Linked DNA regions of Homo sapiens: regions 1, 2, 4 and 5 are each linked to region 3. Evidence: promoter capture Hi-C in 16 types of primary human blood cells and fetal thymus (Javierre and others, 2016). All regions are on one chromosome and are shown on one strand. Each heading gives the region's core, a stretch centred on a gene start or on the middle of the fragment in contact. The rest is flanking DNA. Distances are from core to core; before and after follow the strand shown. Region 1 holds the start of RAB22A (RAB22A, member RAS oncogene family). Region 2 holds the start of VAPB (VAMP associated protein B and C). Region 3 holds the start of ZBP1 (Z-DNA binding protein 1). Region 4 has its middle 4.4 kb from the start of ANKRD60. Region 5 has its middle 36 kb from the start of ANKRD60.

Region 1 (3,697 bases), core at 80-2,579, 690 kb before region 3:
CCTGAAAGAGAACGAGATGAGGGACTGAGAAAAAGTTTACCTTTTGGCAGACACCAAAAACTACTTTGTGGCATAAGTTCAGGATTTTAGAAAAATCACCCTAGACGTGTAAATTTTATAAACGGAGGAACACAAAAGCGGTTGTCATAAAAATTCAGTAGAGTAATTAGGAAATTCCAACTGTACTAAAAGGGAGAGGTTTTTGCCGTTAAGACAGATTAGGACCTTTTGAGAGACCCAAAGTTTCTGCTTCGTGTAAAAAGTAACAAGTCCACTTGCTTTTTAACATATGTTAGTAAACTTTGAACTCCTGAGTTACCTCTGAGTAATCCCTGATGAATCCTAGCCCCACCCTATTTGGGGGAATAAAGATTAGTTATTGGAGTTCCTGCCGATCTTTAAGGCAGAAACTCTGGAATGACAGCATCAATTTCAGAAAGAAGGCTTTGAAATGGCCAACACCTTGTCTTTCCTGACAAGACAGGAAGCTGAAGCTTCAAACTAGTCTTTGGGGCTTCCTGATTTGAACACCCCTTTTCTCCACAGGAAGAGTTACTTGGCAAAGTAACTCTTTGGACAAGTGGCAGGGGTATCCCACAAGTTCAAAAACACCCAAGAGACAAAGTAGGCTAATGCTGCTTGTAAAACCTAAAGACCTGTTATTGGTTTTACTTTGGAAGACTTGGCCAACTCCCAACTAATACCTTGGTAAGTTGGGAGAAAACTATTTAAGAACCTCTCTTAACCCAGATGCAATAGAGAGGCAAGGGGGGGCTGTTTGCTCTTTGTGGGGCGGGAAGAGTCCACGGGCTCCAGGGAGGGGAAGGGGAAGGGTCCCTTCGGCCTCCAGGACCTTTTCGAGAGTGCAAGAGGTGGGCGGGACGGCTCCCGAGCTGGAGGGAGGGTCCACGGGGCTGGCAGACAGCGTCTTGGACGTGGGAGGGGGGAAGGGATGAGGGGACAGGGGGGATCCGGGGTCCCCGCCAGCCCAGCCTCCCGTGGCCCTCCCGGCCGGACCCGCCGCCACTCACCCCGAGCAGACACACTTTGAGCTCCCTCAGCGCCATGGCCCGGGAGCCAGGGGCGCGGGCCCGCCGCCGCCCTAAGTTGAGAAGGGAGAGGCCAGGCCCAGCAAGAGCATCCCCTGGCGCCGCTGCCGCCGCACGGCCCAGCCCCGGTCCGCGCAGAGGCGGCTGCCGCCCGTCCTCCGGCCGTAGGTCCGGCCTGTCCGCTGCCAGCCGCGTGGGGCCCGCCTTAGCAGCCGGGACGCCGCCGCGGCCTTCCGGGAGCCGCCGCCGCCGCCATCTTGGGACGCCGGCCGCGTCACCTGACCTCCCCGCCCACCTCGGCAGCCACCTTCGCTGAGAGGGCGGGGCCGGCCGGCCGGCGCGGATCGGGGGCGGGGCCCGAAGCCGACGGCCCCGCCCCTGTCTGCAGGGCCCCGCCCCTGTCTGCAGGGCCCCGCCCCTGTCTGCAGGGCCCCGCCCCTGTCTGCAGGGCCCCGCCCCTGTCTGCAGGGCCCCGCCCCTGTCTGCAGGGCCCCGCCCCTGTCTGCAGGGCCCCGCCCCTGTCTGCAGGGCCCCGCCCCTGCCGGTCCCGCCTCCATGCCCATCCCAAGATGGCGGGTGAGTGGGGCTGGGCTCGGGGGATGCCAGGGGTGCCCCTCTCTCTCTCGCCCCGTGACCACCCCGCGAGGCCGAGGGGCCCCTGCCCGACCCCGTCCCCTCTCGCCGCAGCCCCCTGGTAACTTCTTGTGTGTTTCTTGGTTTTCAGAGATCCCCCTGTACTTTGTGGACTTGCAGGATGACTTAGACGACTGTAAGTAAGAGTTGGGGCACCCCTGTCCCTCCCTGGGACCCTCTCAAAGAATTCAGAGTGCACGAAGCGCGGGGCGGGGGAACCTCAAGCCAGGCACTCCTTGTCGGGACCAGAACAGCGGGACCCCCAACTGCCTAGATCCACTGGTGGCGGTCCCTCCTCCCTGGGCGGGGCGGGCTGAGGGTGGGAGCCCTTCCCTTCCCTCGGGGGAAGGATTTTTGTTGTTGGGGAAACTTTGGACTCCCTGTCACTTCTTTTCTTCCTGCGCCTGCAGCTGCCGTGGGATGGGCGGAGGGGGTAGTCCCAAGTCCTAGTCGACCCTGGGCGGGCGGGGGGTCCGCCACCTGGGAGGTGGGTGACTTCCCTCTCAGGGCCTTGCCCTTTTCCTAGGGACTTTTTAGGACTGCTGGGGGGTTTGGGAGGTCCCCCTCTCGGTGTGGCCGGTCACGGAGTTGCACGGACTTCTCAAGTGTCCTGGCCACAAGCCCGGCTCCATCTCTTATCCCATGGAGCCCATTGGCCCCCGCATTTCTTGGGTGGGACCCTTGTCCCTTCTTGCCCTCTTTTTTGGAATCATGTTAAGGGCTGGTAGCTGGGGGAGGTGTCATCTTAGAAATCCAAGTTCGCATTTCTGGTGAAGGAAGGAAGCGTTTTCTCTCCTGTCAAGAAACTTACTGAGCAGCTATTTGCTCTGGGGGCCACGTGTTGGGCTCCGAACCTGCAAGGATGTGTTGAAAACAGCTCTACACGCAGGGAGCTCACAGGGTGTGGGGAGAGCCTACTTGTAAACAGAAAATTACCGAGCACCGGAGTGCTTGCTGGTGAAGAAGCCCTATATAAATCATCCAAATAGCTAACATTAATTGGGGGCGTACTGTACGCCAGTCATATACAGTACTTCCTCTCATCTTTCATTCCACATCTTCAGGTTTCCTAATAGTAAGAGTTGGTGTTTACTGAAAACTTACCATGGACCAGACAGCGTTAAACTCTTTTTTTTTTTTTTTTTTTTTTGAGACGTAGTCTTGCTCTGTAGCCCAGGCTGGAGTACAGTGGCACGATCTCGGCTCACTGCAAGCTCCACCTCCTGGGTTCACGCCATTTTCCTGCCTCAGCCTCCCAAGTAGCTGGGACTATAGGCGCCCGCCACCACTCCCGGCTAATTTTTTGTATTTTTAGTAGAGAAGGGGTTTCACTCTGTTAGCCAGGATGGTCTCGATCTCCTGACCTCGTGATCCGCCCACCTCGGCCTCCCAAAGTGTTGGGATTACTGGCGTGAGCCACCACGCCCGGCCCAGTCTTAAACTCTTTACACACATTAACTCAGAAGGCGCAGTTTCGGCTGGGTGCGGTGGCTCAGGCCTGTAATCCCCGCACTTTGGGAGGCAGAGACGGGCAGATCACTTGAGTCCAGCCTGGCCAACATGGTGAAACCCTGTCTCTACTAAAAATACAAAAATTAGCCGGGCTTGGTGGCGCGCGTCTCTAATCTTAGCTGCCCGGGAGGCTGAGGCAGGAGAATTGCTTGAACCTGGGAGGCAGAGGTTGCAGTGAACGCCACTGCACTCCAGCCTGGGCGACAGAGTGACTCCGTCTCAAAAAAACAAAACAAAACAAAACAAACCAACAAGGGGCAGTTTTGTTAAAGTAGCATAACACTTTTGAAGGGGTAAAGCAAGCTGATAGTTAAGAGCCCGGTGTCTGTGGAATCAGATGGCCAAGAGTGAAATCCCGTATCACTGTTTACTGTCAGTGTGATCCCAGGCAAGTCGCTGTACCACTCTATGCCTCAGCGACCTCATCAGTAAAATGGGCATTATAGTGGCCCACCTCAAAAGGCTTTTATAAGGGATTAAATGAATAAAGGATTTAGCACAAT
Region 2 (3,716 bases), core at 1,205-3,704, 770 kb before region 3:
CACATGCCTGTATGTAATCCCAGCTACTCAAGAGGCTGAGGCAGGAGAATCACTTGAACCTGGGAGGCAGAGGCTGCAGTGAGATGGCGCCTCTGCACTCCAGCCTGGGTGACAGAGTGAGAACTCTATCTCAAAAAAAAAAAAACTACTAGTGGCATCCCAAAGGAGCCCAGTCATCTCAGTGTTTGTGCCTCTGTGCATGCAATTTCCTCTGTCTGAAATGTTCCCCACCCTTTCCTTCTTTGAGCCTTCTTCTACTCGACCTTTATAACTGAGCTCAAATGACACCTCTTTCAGGAGTTGACCTCCTCAATGCTCCTGGAGCACTCTGGACTACCCTACATCATTGTCCTGTCCTGGCTGTTATTCTCATCTGCCCCCTTCCCTAAAGTACTGGGAGGAGGTTGAGGGAAAATAGGAGAGTACAGCTGATATAACTTGGCTTCTCTGGGTATCTGACACACAGATCAGGTACTCAGTAAATGTTTGTGGACTAACCGAATGAACCCACCAATTATCAGGAGAAGCCAAGCCAGGCCTCCCAGATAGAGAAAGAACTTCAGACAACTCAAGTGGAAACTAAGGCTCACTATTTTCACTTTAGCTACCTGGACTTCTTTCCCAATCTGGCATCCCCAGAAGGCCATGAGAACATCATGAAAGCTCAAGTACTATCCTGGAATTACAATCCACGGTAGGTTTGGTGGGGTTTTTCGGTTTTTTCATTTTAATTGGAAAGCCTTTGGTTCTCTGTAAATTCAGAGTTATTTCACATTGTTAACTTGGAAGGCAAAGTGACAGCCACCGTTCTGGAGTATTTCCCAGCGATCAGACAGCAAAACGGTTAAGAGCGTGAACTCTGAAGTCTGGGTTCAAATGTACCATTTGCCAACTGGGTAACTTTGGGTAAGTTACCCTACACTACTTCCCAATAGGACATATAAACTGGAGAGCCTCTGGCCATTCATTCATTCATAAATACCAACTGAGCATCTACTGTGAGTCCGGTGCTAGCGATATAGTGGAGACCCGGCCTTCCAATCTAAAGTACGCTTCCATGGAGTCAGACTGTTCCATTTCCTACACAGCACTTAGCACTATCTGCAATGATCTTGTGTGTTGGTTTGTCTGTCCTCGTCGGAAGGTAAGCTCTGTGAGAGCAGAGGCCTTATCTGTCTTGTGCATCCATCACCTCCCCAGAGCCTCCCACATCACTGGATACACGCAAAAAGAAAGAATGAGCATGTCAGACAAGAACTTTTACCTCGTGGCCCTGGTGAAGGTAGGAAAAAAAAAAAAAAAACAAAAGTAACAACATAGAAAACATAAAGGCACAAATTACAGAGGTAATAGTATCTGGGAGAAACCAGGGTCATGGCTTCCCATCGCCGCAGGTGTTGCTCCAGACAGCTCTGCGGAGAAAAAGGATCCCAGCACCGTGGCAGCCTCCTTGCACCGCAACCAGGAGACAGCATGAGGGACGCAGTGAAAGGAAAATGGGCCCAATCCCATCAGAAGTCCTGAGGAGGTTCATTTGTTGGTTCAACATGTTCATCTGTTGGTTCAACAGGTATTTATTTACTAGGCGTATAATGTGTGCTGGGTACACAGCAGCGAACTGACAAGAGCCTGTCCTCATGCAGTTTCCCTTCTAGTATTGAAACAGTGATTTTGGGTATGAAAAGTGCCGTGCTGACCACGAAACAGTGACGGAATAGGGAATGACAGCAGGTGTGCACGGTGGCTGGGTGGTCACAGCAGGCCTCTCTGAGCAGCTGACACCTCAACTAAGCCCTGAGGTCAACACTGTCACGGAGCAGGGGAAGAAACTTCTAGGCAAAGGCAGCGGCGGAGGCTCACACTAGAGAGGATCACAAACTGGTAAGTTACAAAGTGACAAGTGCCTCGAAGGCAAGTCCCAGGAGGCTGGGGGTCGGGGAGGAGGCGCAGGCCCCGGCTCCCGCACCAGCCCTCTCGGGTCCCGGCCACTCCGGGCAGTTCTGGGGAGCGCGGCGAGCGCCAAGGCCCGGCCCGGCCTCGCCGCCCCCCGCGACAGCGCCGTCGGGGTGGGGACGAGGGCCGACGTCACCCGCCGCGCCGGGCTCCGTCCTTCCAGCACTGGGGCGGAGGCCGCGGGCAGGAAGGTGGCGGCCTCTGGGGCTTACCTCGGAATTTGAGCTCGTGCTGCGGCTCGAGGCTCAGGACCTGCTCCACCTTCGCCATGTTCCTTAGCGGCGGAGCACCTTTGGCGGGGAGACCCCTGAGAGGTCACCGGGGCGGGAAGCGTTAATGCTGCGCCCGCTTTAAGTTTTACAAAAAGGCGGGGACCGGTCGGGGCACGGGCGGGGGTCCTCTACCGGGTGGGCGCGCTGGGGGGGGGTCGGTCTACGCGGTGCAGGCGCAGGGGCGGAGGGCGAGGGCGAGGCCGCGGTGCCCGGCGAGCTGACGGCACGCACGCACGCACGCACGCACGCAGAGTCGTACACACGCACGCACGCAGCAGGCTGGCCCGCTCTGGCGGCGGGAAGCTGCGCCCTGCGCCGCCGGCTCCAGGGGCGGGGACTAAAGCTGCGCGCGTAGAGCCCCTTCCGGGACAGTGCGCAGGCGCGGCACAAGCCACGGGGGCGGGACTGCGGGGCAGTAAGGGGCGGGGCTTCGGGCCGCTCAGGAGGCGGGGTCTGTAGTCCAGCTACGACAGCCACCGCGGAAACTATTAAGGGCCCGCTGGGGGCCAGCTTCGTGTTAAGTGCTTTATTCAATAATAACAATTAGAATAAACTTCCACTTTTCTCTTGCTTATGTAGTGCCAGGCACTGTTAGAGACTTTGAATAATAGTGAAAGTACTTAGTATAAGTATAATGTTTATGGGTGAGTGATATGGGCTAGGCACTGTGACGTCTTGTAAATAATAATTATAAATATAATAAACTACCAATTATTGCTTATTTATTTTGTATCACTCTACTGAATGCTTCCAATAACAACAGCAACTACAATAAATACAAGCTACTCTACGTTAAATGTTTACTATGCAACTGGCACTGTGCTGAATTCTTTACTAGTAAATTCTATTTGTTTATGCAACAAATATTTAGAAATACAATGATCAGAAAAGCGAACCTGATTCCAATCCTTTTACTATAGCCTAGTGAAGAGACATCTTTTGAATAAATAACCACACACGTAAGTTAAATAATTAAAAATTGCTGGAGAATCCAGATCTGCTTGACCTCAAAAGTGGATACTCTACATCATGATTACCGTTTAAATTGTATTTCATTATATTATGTTTACTATGGAAGTTAAATAGGTGTTCTTAATAGTCTCCTATACATACCCATATAGGTGAGACAAATGTGGCAAATTGCTAGCAATGGCTGACTCTACATCGCAGGTATATGGTTTTCTTGTACTGTTTCTCCCACTTTGCTGTATACTTGAAATTTTTCATGATAAAAAGGTTTTTTAAAAGAATAGTCTTTGTATTTTAACTGGAGCATTTAGTCCATTTACATTTATTATATTTACTGATATATCTGGAATTATTTCTACCATTGTATTTTGTTATTTCTATTTGTCCTGCCTGGTTTTTTTCCCCTTTCCTTTCTTCTTTAGGGTTTATTTTTATTCTCATTCTGATTTTCTTCACCTGTATACTCTATTTCTAAGTTTTAGTGGTTACTTCAAACTTTTGGGCATGCATACTTACCTTGTG
Region 3 (3,433 bases), core at 632-3,131:
ACACTTAACATGCAGGCAGGGCGGAAGACCTGGGCTCCAGGTGCTCGCTCTGCAAAGACAGATAGCTTCAGGATAAACCTCCGGACCCCCTTTCCATTTGTATTTGCCGCTAAGCTGCTCCTTATGCATAAATGGGGTCTGCAAGGAGCACAGACGTCTCTAGCCCTCCCAGCCCTCTGCAGATGAGACACAGACCCCAAGTCCAGGGACTTCCAGGGCTGAGCTCTCAACCCCCTTGGCTGCCAAAAGCTGGGGGGCCTTGTACACAGCATTCACCTCTGTGGGCCTCAGTTCCTCCTTCTGTGATCTGGAAGAGAACAGTGGCTCTGAGTTTTTCTGAGGTCACTGGCCCTTTTGAGAATTATGTAAGCAACGGGTCCTCTCCCAGAAGCATTCCTGTGAGGTGACCACGGTGCCCGTGACTACGGATGGCTCTGGGGCTCTAGCCCGACAGCTGGGCTGTATCAGCCCCTTAGGTCCTCACCTCGACCCCATGCGCTAGGTCCTTTGATTAAGTCCTTTTACACATGGGGAAACTGAGGCACAGAGGGGTTAAATAATTTGTCCGAGGTCACACAGCCGGTAAATGGCGGAGCCAGGTTTGGACCCAAGCATGCTGACCCAGGCTTGCATTCCGAACCACTCGGCTGCTGACCCCAGGCATCTGACTCTGGAATTAATAAGCAAGTTTTATGATGAGGCGGGGAACTCCACGCCATCTGTGCACTAAGGGTGATTCACCAGTGACTTCTGGGTGTTATAGATCAGGAAACACAATTGGGGAATGGACAGGACAAGCTCTGTCATGGACTCTGTGTGGCCTTGGACAAGTGATCTTGCCTTTCTAGCCTCAGTTTCCCCCCTGAGAAGAAGACAGAACTGGCCCCTACCCTGTAGATGGGTTGGAGGAGCACTTGAGATTGGAAAACGCATAATAGGTGTTCATTAAAGAGGCTCACATGGATACACACAAGAACAATCTCAGGGCCTTCACGCACCTAAATGTTCTGCCCCTAGTGTGGGCAAGGGAAACAAACTGGAAGAAGACAAGAAAAGCCACTGAGAGCTGGGGACGGTGCCTCTGTAGCACCTGTGAGTCCCCGAGGAGGAAGTACTACAGGAACCAGCGGGGCCGGGCGTGGGGGCTTGCGGCTGGAATCCCAGCACTGTGGGAGGCCAAGGCAGGCAGATCGCTTGAGCCCAGGAGTTTGAGACCAGCCTGGGCAACACGATGAAACCCCATCTCTACAGAAAATACAAAAATTAGCCGGGCATGGTGGTCTAGGCCTGTGGTCCCAGCTACTAGGGAGGCTGAGAGGTGGGAGGATCGCTGGAGTCCGGAAGGTCGAGGCTGCCGTGAGCCGTGATCACGCCACTGCACTCCAGCCTGGATGACAGAAACCCTGTCTCAAAAACAAACAAAAACACAGAAACCAGATAACCAGCCCCAGCCCCTCACATCATCAGAGTGATGCCACGCCCTGGCATCCCCCTCCACGTGGTGCATGCTCTTTTTTTTATTTTTATTTTCTTCAGTTCTCTGATGCTGATTCAGAAAATAAAAATGTAGAGGTCCAGGTGGGCTGTGCCTGGAACGGGGAAGGTGAGGGAAGTCCTCTGTCTCAAAGGCCTCTTCGGAGGACGCTCTGGTCTTGCCAAGTTTACAGCTCCTCCCTGTCAACATCAAGTCAGGTCCCCAACTCTGTCTTGCTCATCCACCTGGCTTCCACTTTTTTTTTCTTTCAAAAGACGAACAGAGAAGTTTCATTTTCTTTTTCTCCTGAAACCGAATCTGGCCGGCCTGGCTAGGCATCTATTTCCGGGCTGTAAGCAGCTGACACCTGCCCAGTGGAAGCTGGCATCCCTCCCCTTGTGGGTTCAGAGCTGCAAGAAGCACCAGGCTCGGCCACTTCAGAAGCCCCAGCCTCGACCTAGCCCACCCTCTCAGGGCCACAGTGCAGAAGCCTGCACACCTGCCAAGTCTCTCCGACTCCTTGCAGCTGCTGTCAGCATGGCCCAGGCTCCTGCTGACCCGGGCAGAGAAGGTACAGTACTTCTTCCTTCCAAGGACCAGCGGTAGCTCCCGGGGTGAGATTTCTACTTCTCTTTCCTCCTGTTTCGCTTGGTCCAGATCATGATGACAATAGCAGTATCCTAAAGAATAGTAGACCAGCTGGGCGTGGTGGCTCACGCCTGTAATCCCAGCACTTTGGGAGGCGAGGTAGGTGGACTGTTTAAGCTCAGGAGTTTGACACTAGCCTGGCCAACATGGCGAAACCCCATCTCTACTAAAATTACAAAAATTAACCGGGCATGGTGGCGCATGCCTGTGATCCCAGCTACTCGGGATGCTGAGGCTGGAGAATCGCTTGAACCCGGGAGGTGGAAGTTGTAGTGAGCTGAGATGTCGCCATTGCACTCCAGACTGGGTGACAGAGTGAGATTCCATCTCAGAAAAAAAAAAAAAAAATAGAAAGGGACAGCATAGCCATCCCCCTTTGACAGCTGACTGTGCCCCAGGCACCTCGAAACATGCTTTCCAAGCATTTCCTGATGGCCTGCAGGGACAAGTGCCATGTCATTCCCATTTTATAGATAACTGAGGCCCTGAGAGGTGAAATGACACTCTCAGGGTAACACAGCTGGCGAACGCTGGTGTTAGCGTCTGAACACCCATGTCACAGTCATATCGAGAACAAAGCGGTTTGCTTTGATGAGATACATGTGTGCCTTTGTTCCCCCTTGTTGCATCCTTTCCTCAACTAACATTTCATTCATTTTATTCCTGGAAGAGTTGCAATGAAAGCCAATAGTGTATCGAGTAATTGCTGTTCTCTAGGGTCTCCACTAAGCGCTGTGGACTGTAGGTGAAGTGTGGTTTTGCGGTTTGGGGGATGTGTTTGTTTTGTTTTTAATCCTCACCACAATCTTTGAAGTAGTTATTACTGTCTCCATTTCACAGAAGAGGAACCTGAAGCCGGAGGGGAGGTCACACAGCTAGTAGTTGGCAGGGCTAGGAGCTCAAACCCAGGAAATCAGCCATCAGAATTTTAAAAAACCAACACAGAGTGTGCCCCGGGAGGGCTAATGTCAGGGTGTGGCCCAGGAGCCGGGCTGACCGCGGAGGTCCTGTGGAGCTTCCTCTTCGGGGACTCACGGGTGCTGACGCAGGTTCCGGACTCAGCCCTCGCTGGCTTTTCTTGTCTTCCTCCCCAGTTGATTTTCCTTTTGTGACCAAATTGTTGCCTACACCTGCTCCATTTTACAATTTCCCATTTTCAGACACAGTAGCCTGGGACTCAGCAGTCGAGGCCAGCCCAGGGCCAGTGCTTGTCCTGCATCCACACCTCTGACCCCCATCTCCTCTGGGGTGTGTGGAGCCGAGGCAGTGGCTCCCTAAGGTCAGCCTTCCAGAATCAAAACTGCGGCCAGG
Region 4 (3,516 bases), core at 510-3,009, 610 kb before region 3:
GAAGGAAGGCAGGATGAAGAATTGGGCAGTGGGTTAGGGCAGAGACTTTAACCTCTTTAGAGTAAATGTGTAGAGTTCGTATCATCCTGTCCAGCTCCTCAGATCGCCCTCTCTACTCAGCCTCTTGGAAATGAGGGTGTGATTTATGTTTGCCTAGGAGCAATGGCAGTGATAATGGCTGCCATTTCTTGAATACCTCTTGTGTGCCAGGTATCACATCACACATTTAATTCTCTAATAAAAAGTAATGTGTCATGGCGGGCACCTTTAATCCCAGCTACTTGGGAGGCTGAGGCAGGAGAATCGCTTGAACTCGGGAGGCGGAGGTTGCAGTGAGCTGAGATTGCATCACTGCACTTCAGCCTGGGCAACAGAGTGAGACTCCATCTCAGGGAAGAAAAAAAAAAACCAAGAGGTAATGTGTATTGAGCATGGCATACCCATTTACCTTTAGACCAGCTCTTTTAGGTGAAACATTTGAAGCCCAGAGAGGTTAGGTCACTTGTTCAAGATCACACAGGAAGTGTAAGCCGATGATTTTTTTTTTTCTGCTAAAGTATTGTTTTAAACATTTTAACTTTCATTACACACGTTTTCAAGCATATACAAAGGTAGAGGGATTGCTGTAATGAACCTCTGTGAACCCACCACCCAGCTTTGTTGATAGTACAGTGAAGCCGTGGTTGGGACCGTACCTGACCCCAGACCGCAAAGCCCCCTTTCTCTCCCTGATGACCACGGGCACCAGAGGACTCACCAGCGCCCCCTCTTGGACCAGTGGGACATTACAGGAGTGCTTTGGCAGCCCACTCTGAGAAGGGCAGTGGATGGCAGAGTGAACAACAAACTCACAGACTCACAAACTCACAGACGGCACAGACTTTTGTGAAGGAAGAGTCAATGTTCCAAATCAATTTGTGGAGAAAGCTTAAAGGAAATAGTTTTTGCTTTTATTTTTAAATTCTTTATCTGAGATTTAGAAAGTCTGAAATAAACAAAAGGACTCTTGGGACTGCGGGGGAAGGGTGGGAGGGGGTGAGGGGTAAAAGGCTACACATTGGGTGCCATGTACACTGCTTAAAGGAGCCTAGGAATATGTGCCTGCCTTCTAGTGTTGTCATGGGCTTCCGTGGGCTGATAAAGCTGAGCTACCCAGCATGGCGCCTGGCACCTAGGGAACACCAGCAGCCACCGCCACAGCACCCATCCACCACGACACCAATTACCCGGGCATAGAAGAGCCACAGGAGTTAGAACCCACACTTCGGCTCACAGTCCCCACCCTGCTGCCACAGGAGTTAGAACCTACACTTGGGCTCGCAGACCCCCCCGCTGCCACTGGTGGTTATGAGACCTTTGGGTGTCACCACCACATTGGAAATGAGTTTTTTTTTAACCTGTAAAACTAGGCTGATTTTGAATTCCAGGGCTAGTCCTGAGAATTAAGTGAGAGAATACATGTAAAGTCGTGTAACTGGAGAAGTTATATGCACTTGCTGGGTATGACTACAGGACTGGCATTTACGGATTGTTTATAGAGGTCTGGGCATTGGGTTATGGTTTGGGATTTGACTGTCACTTGACAGCCACGGCCGCTGTGAATGACAGAAATGAGGTTCTTGACCCTTCCTTACCGGTCAGCTGTATGCAGTGTGGTGGTATTGTCCTAGATGTTTTGCATAACAGACCTGTCATCATACAGATGAGGAAACTGAGGCTCAGAAAGGCTAAGCCGCTTAACCAGAAGTCACATAGCTACTAAGACCAAGTTAGGTTTTGAATCTAGACTTCTGACTCCTAAGCTCACCAGATCTTAACCTACTTGGAACCCACTGCTTGGTAGTGAATTATAATAAAATATTAACTGTGTTTCTAACCAAATCAGTGCTTGAGATTTAAAAATTCATACACACGCCTCAAACCTACAGATTCTGAAATGACTTCTTTGGGATTAAAGAAGTGTATGTTTCTAGAAGACTGCGGAAAACATCATTTCTTTGGCTGTGACTTTCTTGGAGCAGGCAGTGGTGAGCAAGGAGTGTGTCCCCGTGGACCAGTTCATGGAGCACCTGCTTCCCAGCCTCCTGAGCCTCGCATCAGATCCTGTGCCCAACGTGAGGGTTCTGCTAGCCAAGGCCCTAAGGCAGATGCTGTTGGAAAAGGGTAGGTGGAGCACTTTTCAGAACTTACACATTTCGGGTAGACTCCACCAGTTGTTAAAGGCCACAACTAGATTTCCTCTAGGAAACTGAGGCAGGTTGTGTGACAGCACGCGTAAGGTTTATTATGTAAATGATTATGTTAACTTTGATGCATCATTTTATGTTATTTATAAAACGACCAAGGAAATGAATGTAATTTGGTCTTCATACTTAATAAACATATGCTAAAATGTAAATTATTACATAGCTTTCCAGAAATGAGGGAAATTGATAAATTTTGAGTTATGACATGAAAGATTATGAAAGGTAGCAAACGTAAGCCTTAACTGCTATTATGTTTTAATGGTATTATTTTGTGGTCAGTTAGAAAAGATTTGTAACCCAACTAGTGGATTATTTACACCTGGACAGGACTCAATAAAAGCTTTGTGTTTCTTGGATAGTTTATTTCTACACCACACATATAGGAAAATATCTTGAACTCTGCCCTACATGTACATTTCTTGCCACCTCACCCCCTGCCCCACCCTACCTACAACCTGCTCCTGCTCTGCACATTGCCATTTCTTTTGTATTGCAGGGAAAAAAGATAGTTACTATAATTTTAAAAATATGCATAACTGTTGGGAGTCCATCTTTAACATTTTAGAAATACTCTTTGATTTATTGTCCTGACATGTGGCTAACAAAAAACAAAACCGAGTGTGTTTTGAACACTGTTCATGGCTTACCTGATTCAGACTCATGGTTTCTCTCTTTAGCGTATTTTAGAAATGCTGGTAACCCTCATCTTGAAGTCATTGAAGAGACCATCTTAGCATTGCAGTCAGACCGGGACCAAGATGTTTCCTTTTTTGCAGCCCTAGAACCAAAGCGGCGGAATATCATAGACACTGCTGTACTAGAAAAACAGAATTAACTACTTCCGTGATGAGTTGCAATCTGATTATTTCATGCTTGGCACATATGGCTTACCATAACTTGAAGGGGAACTGATTGTATTATACCAGCTGGGGGAGATTTTGGAACCTTTCATACTGTGCACTCAGTGATTGACGCCTTTTCCATCTGTACCCCGAAGGGACTGAACCTGATGGGGGCTTTTTCTGGATGGCTGGGCCATCCTGATCAAGCCTGATCAGTAAGTCTGTGGAAAGATTGCAGACCAGGTGGCTAACTGGGCACTGGAGCCTCTGAACCATCAGGCTGTCTGCCAGCAAGTTCTTTTCTCCATGGCAGACTGTATGATCTGAAGTCCCCCCAACCCTCTCCAAGTAAAGTAGTTTATTAGAAGCTCTTAAGTCTTTAATAGACCTGCATATTTCCTTCCCTTATGATTTCCTATAAAATATAG
Region 5 (3,880 bases), core at 383-2,882, 570 kb before region 3:
CAGCTGACCCTCAGTGACCCATAAGTGCACAAACTACAGATGTGCTTGCAGTTGTCTGCCACCGAGACCCTGCAGTTTGTTAGGCAGCATGAGATGGCAGTAGCTGACTGATACAATGACCCAAGGAAGGGAGCACAACAAGGAGAGAAAAGGGCCTGCAATGGAGTCCAGAGAACTCCAGGATTTTAAGCAAAAGCAATTGAGAATTGGCCATTTCCAAGCCTAACTTAGGAAGCAGTTCAGCAGTACACAAAGAAGGAGTCCAGGAGGGTTCTTTGGAGGAAGGGGCCGTTACTGGATGGGAAGAATCTGGCCAGGTAGAGATGGGAAGGGAGGGGCTCCAGGTATGTGTGTAGCATGCCTGGAGCGTGGAGAGGGGCTGGCTCTGCACACTGCACTGGGACTAAGTTCTTTCCCCTCTGGACTTGTCCCCGAGGTGGGGACGCATCTCTGCTTCTGCTCTGCTTAGAGGACAGGGTGCTCACAGACTCAGGTAGGGTGCTCGAGGGCCCCCAGGCCAGCAAAGGAATCTAATTCCTGGCTTTGTGTCTGACTGTAACCCAGCAGAGGCTAGTGGCCTGGTGGTGGGAGGCCCAGTCTCTGAAATTCAGAGCCTGGCTGGGAACCCTGTCCCACGTCTCACAGGAGCAGGGTGTGTCCGCAGACAGTGACTGGGCTAGGACATGCCTTGCTTTTCCTTGCCATACCCCCTTCCTCTGGGGACATCTTGGGCAGACTCCGAGGTCTCCAGTCACACTCAGTTGTGAAGACATCTATGTGACTGGAACTCAAAACGTAAAGCTCACGTCCAGCTCACAGCTTCTGGGAGAGGGTCCCCAGACCAGGCCAACTGGATGCCAGGGTCCTGCCATTGGGATGATGGCCTGTCTTCCACCCTCCTTGCTCTGCTACCTTCTCCGCCTGTGCTCCTGGTCTGGCAGGGTCAGGGCTGGACAGGGGTGAGAAGGAGCGGGGCCAAGGTCTTTTCATGTGGCTGGCGGCATGTGTGGCTCTCCTTCGGCTGTTGAGCGCCTTCTGCCCCCTCGGGCATGGAATGCTGTTCCTGCATGGGGAACACTCATGGGGTTTCTTTGAACCCCCACTCCCAACCTCATTCCTTTCTAGGTCCAGTTTTATTCCCCCTCTGCAAGGAAGAATTATGAATGTCACTGATGGGACCTGCACTTTGCACTTTTTGCACCAACCTTTGGGTACAAATAGGGCCACATTGATAGCCTAGATGTCACCCAGTCTTGTCCTGGTCATTTACTTTCCCGGGATCCCAGAAAAGCCCCCATGTCCTCTCCACCCCAGGCATTTCTAGCGGGGGTCACACAAGTGCTCATAAATGGGTCTGTTGGCCACCACTGCCCTCTGCTGGTGTCCCTGGGCACTGCTGCAGCGGCCCCATCCCTGGGTTGCAGGTGAGGGGTGAACAAGACCCCAACTTCCCCGTGATGCTGTCAGGGTCTCCAGCAGGGCCGACTGCTGACTCTTACAGATTGCTTAGGAAGGGTGCCATTTCCCATGTGACCTGCTCTCTTGGATACAGACATGACTTTTTCCTCATTAATGATGAGGGTGACTTCTAGCGCCATGACCAGCTTGGAGCTAAAACCTTCACTCACATCCATCTTCACTGAGTGCTCACACACCTGTGAGGGGGACCGCCATCTCCACACTTTACAGGAAGAGACCCTGAGGCTCACGGGAGCTCAGGGGAGCTAGAATTTGAATCCGATTTGTCCAATGCATCCAGATATGGCTGAATCGTGGTTGGGTGCCAGGGTGTGTTTCTGCATGTGTCTCTGTGCATATCTCCGTGTGTTAATGCATGCATGCATGTGAGTCTGGGTGCATGCATGTCTGTGTGTGCCGGGATGTGCTTCTGGGCATGTGTGCGTGTTTATGTGTGCATGTGTCTGCGTGCGCGTGTGCATATCCTCTTTCACCCACAGAGTGGTATCAGTGAAGACTTTTGAACTCAAAAAAGAAAATCCTACAAAGCAAAACTGAGGAATGAAGGAGCTGTTGTAGGATCTCATGGTCACTTTCTGGGCGAAGGTCCCCTGAGTTCTGCAGTTGGGATTGGGATCCTCTTTGCACACTCCCCTGAAGACCCCAGCTTCTCCTTTGTGGCACCTGTCACTCCTGTCTCTGACTGACACTCTGTGCAATTATTTGTCTAGTGACTGTGACCTCTGCTCGGTTCTGCTGGCTGTGGATCAGGGACTGTGTCTTTCTTGTCCGAGTGAGTGAATGACTGACAGAAATTCTCTGTATCACTCAGGACATCTCTGGGTGTAACTGACAGAAAATCAGCTCAAACTGGCTTAAGTGCAAAGAGGGCATTGCTGGCTCAAGACACTGAAAAGTTCATGGTCCCCTGGGTTTAGGGGCTCCAGGGAGTCAGATGATAGAATCAGGTTGTTCTCTCTCTTTCTCTCTTATCTCCACTGTCTCTGCATTTATCTGTGTCTTCCTCTTTTCCTGCAGACAGGTCCTTCCATGTGTCAGGGAACAATGGAGGCAGGAGCTCTAGCTTATGTGGTCTTCATAGCTTAAGACCCCAGAGAGAAGGAGAAAGTCTCTCCTGGCATCAAATCTCAGCGAAGTCCCTGATTAGCCAGTTTGGGTCACATGCACATCTTAGAACCAATCCCTGTGGCTCTGTAGGATGGAGGGTTTTTTTTTTTTTTTTTTTTTTTTTTGAGACGGAGTCTCGCTCTGTCTCCCAGGCTGGAGTGCAGTGGTGCGATCTCGGCTCACTGCAAGCTCCGCCTCCCGGGTTCACGCCATTCTCCTGCCTCAGCCTCCCGTGTAGCTGGGACTACAGTCGCCCGCCACCTCGCCCGGCGAATTTTTTATATTTTTAGTACAGACGGGGTTTCACCGTGTTAGCCAGGATGGTCTCGATCTCCTGACCTCGCGATCCGCCCGCCTCGGCCTCCCAAAGTGCTGGGATTACAGGCGTGAGCCACCGCGCCCGGCCAGGATGGAGGATTCTAACTGACCAGACTGGTTCTTGGCACGTGCATGTGTTGGGGGTGGAGTCCTATGACTGACACATGATTGCAGGAGTGGGGCTGACTGGAGTTGGAAAGGTGGTTTTCTGAAGGAAAGTATTGAGCAGAAAGCATGTGTATTTCTTCTCATTACATTATTTTAGAATTAAAAAGGCAACAACATCTTTTTCTTTTCCTAGATTGACCTAGTTTGGAAACCAAATTTAATGTGTAGCTTTTATCTAACTTTGAGAACATTTGGTAGTATATGGAACTTGAAACAAAGCAAAATAAACAAAAAGGTAGAATTTGACAGTAATTTTGTAGTCACTGCATTTTAGCTTTTAGCTGTCCATGCACTAAATGAGTATATGTCATTAAATCAAAGTGTGGCCCCCACATGGGCTTTCTCTGCCATTAAGACCTGAGAGGTTCCTGGAACACATTACCCCACATATCGTTTTCGGGAGAGTAAATGGACAAGATCCTTTTCTCAGTGGGCTGGGGAATGAGAAAGGTATGACTGGTCATTAAAAGCCTTAGTCCAAGGATTTTTTTTTTCCATTAACACAAATGAAATTGTCCTGAAAGCCAAGTTATTATCTCTGGAAGGTGAGGAGTTTCAAGTAGGTGTTGGTGAAGAGGTGTGAGTTTTAGCACCTAAGGTGGGAACTTTGCTAGGAGTCTAGGGGGACGGGGACTTGCTGCCCGTGGACACCTGTGGTTCCAGTGGAGGGGTCTTGGCTAACTCCCAGGGCTCCACAACGCCCCAGGGCTACCTCGACTTCCCTGTCATCTGCTGGTTCTCTGGGCCTGGAAACTTTCTTCTCTCCATGTTCACCTAATGTAGTCTTGAAAGGATGTCTCTGAGTTGG

Evidence for each region. The method cuts DNA at HindIII sites, captures the fragments that hold promoters and counts their contacts. A CHiCAGO score of 5 or more calls a contact.
Region 1: a contact is called between the fragment with the promoter of RAB22A here and the fragment with the promoter of ZBP1 in region 3, in 2 of 17 cell types (neutrophils and activated CD4 T cells). The highest score is 7.0, in neutrophils.
Region 2: the fragment with the promoter of VAPB here is called in contact with the fragment with the promoter of ZBP1 in region 3 in 9 of 17 cell types (neutrophils, total CD4 T cells, M0 macrophages and 6 more); the score reaches 17.5 in neutrophils.
Region 4: a contact is called between a fragment that was not itself captured here and the fragment with the promoter of ZBP1 in region 3, in 3 of 17 cell types (naive CD4 T cells, monocytes and total CD8 T cells). The highest score is 5.7, in naive CD4 T cells.
Region 5: a contact is called between a fragment that was not itself captured here and the fragment with the promoter of ZBP1 in region 3, in 2 of 17 cell types (endothelial precursors and M0 macrophages). The highest score is 10.6, in endothelial precursors.

Annotation. Positions count from the first base shown.
Region 1 is chr20:58,307,347-58,311,043 of GRCh38, reverse strand. RAB22A (RAB22A, member RAS oncogene family) reads right to left here and starts at 1,329. Exons shown (of 7, transcript NM_020673.3): 1 at 1,032-1,329; 2 at 1. The coding sequence starts at 1,067. It also overlaps the pseudogene PPP4R1L. RefSeq lists silencers at 931-1,260, 1,301-1,860. The HindIII fragment of the contact is 7,008 bases long and covers 497-3,697 here.
Region 2 is chr20:58,387,967-58,391,682 of GRCh38, reverse strand. It overlaps VAPB (VAMP associated protein B and C), which reads right to left and starts at 2,454. Exons shown (of 6, transcript NM_004738.5): 1 at 2,166-2,454. The coding sequence starts at 2,223. RefSeq lists silencers at 1,926-2,045, 2,306-2,745. The HindIII fragment of the contact is 12,509 bases long and covers 1-3,716 here.
Region 3 is chr20:57,618,874-57,622,306 of GRCh38, reverse strand. ZBP1 (Z-DNA binding protein 1) reads left to right here and starts at 1,881. Exons shown (of 8, transcript NM_030776.3): 1 at 1,881-2,045. The coding sequence starts at 2,012. RefSeq lists enhancers at 1,632-1,921, 2,052-2,101, 3,182-3,291. The HindIII fragment of the contact is 9,795 bases long and covers 1-3,433 here.
Region 4 is chr20:58,231,335-58,234,850 of GRCh38, reverse strand. It overlaps the pseudogene PPP4R1L. Among named protein-coding and RNA genes, the nearest start is that of ANKRD60, 4.4 kb to the right of the region's middle. The HindIII fragment of the contact is 1,659 bases long and covers 930-2,588 here.
Region 5 is chr20:58,190,273-58,194,152 of GRCh38, reverse strand. No RefSeq gene overlaps it. Among named protein-coding and RNA genes, the nearest start is that of ANKRD60, 36 kb to the left of the region's middle. The HindIII fragment of the contact is 5,377 bases long and covers 1-3,880 here.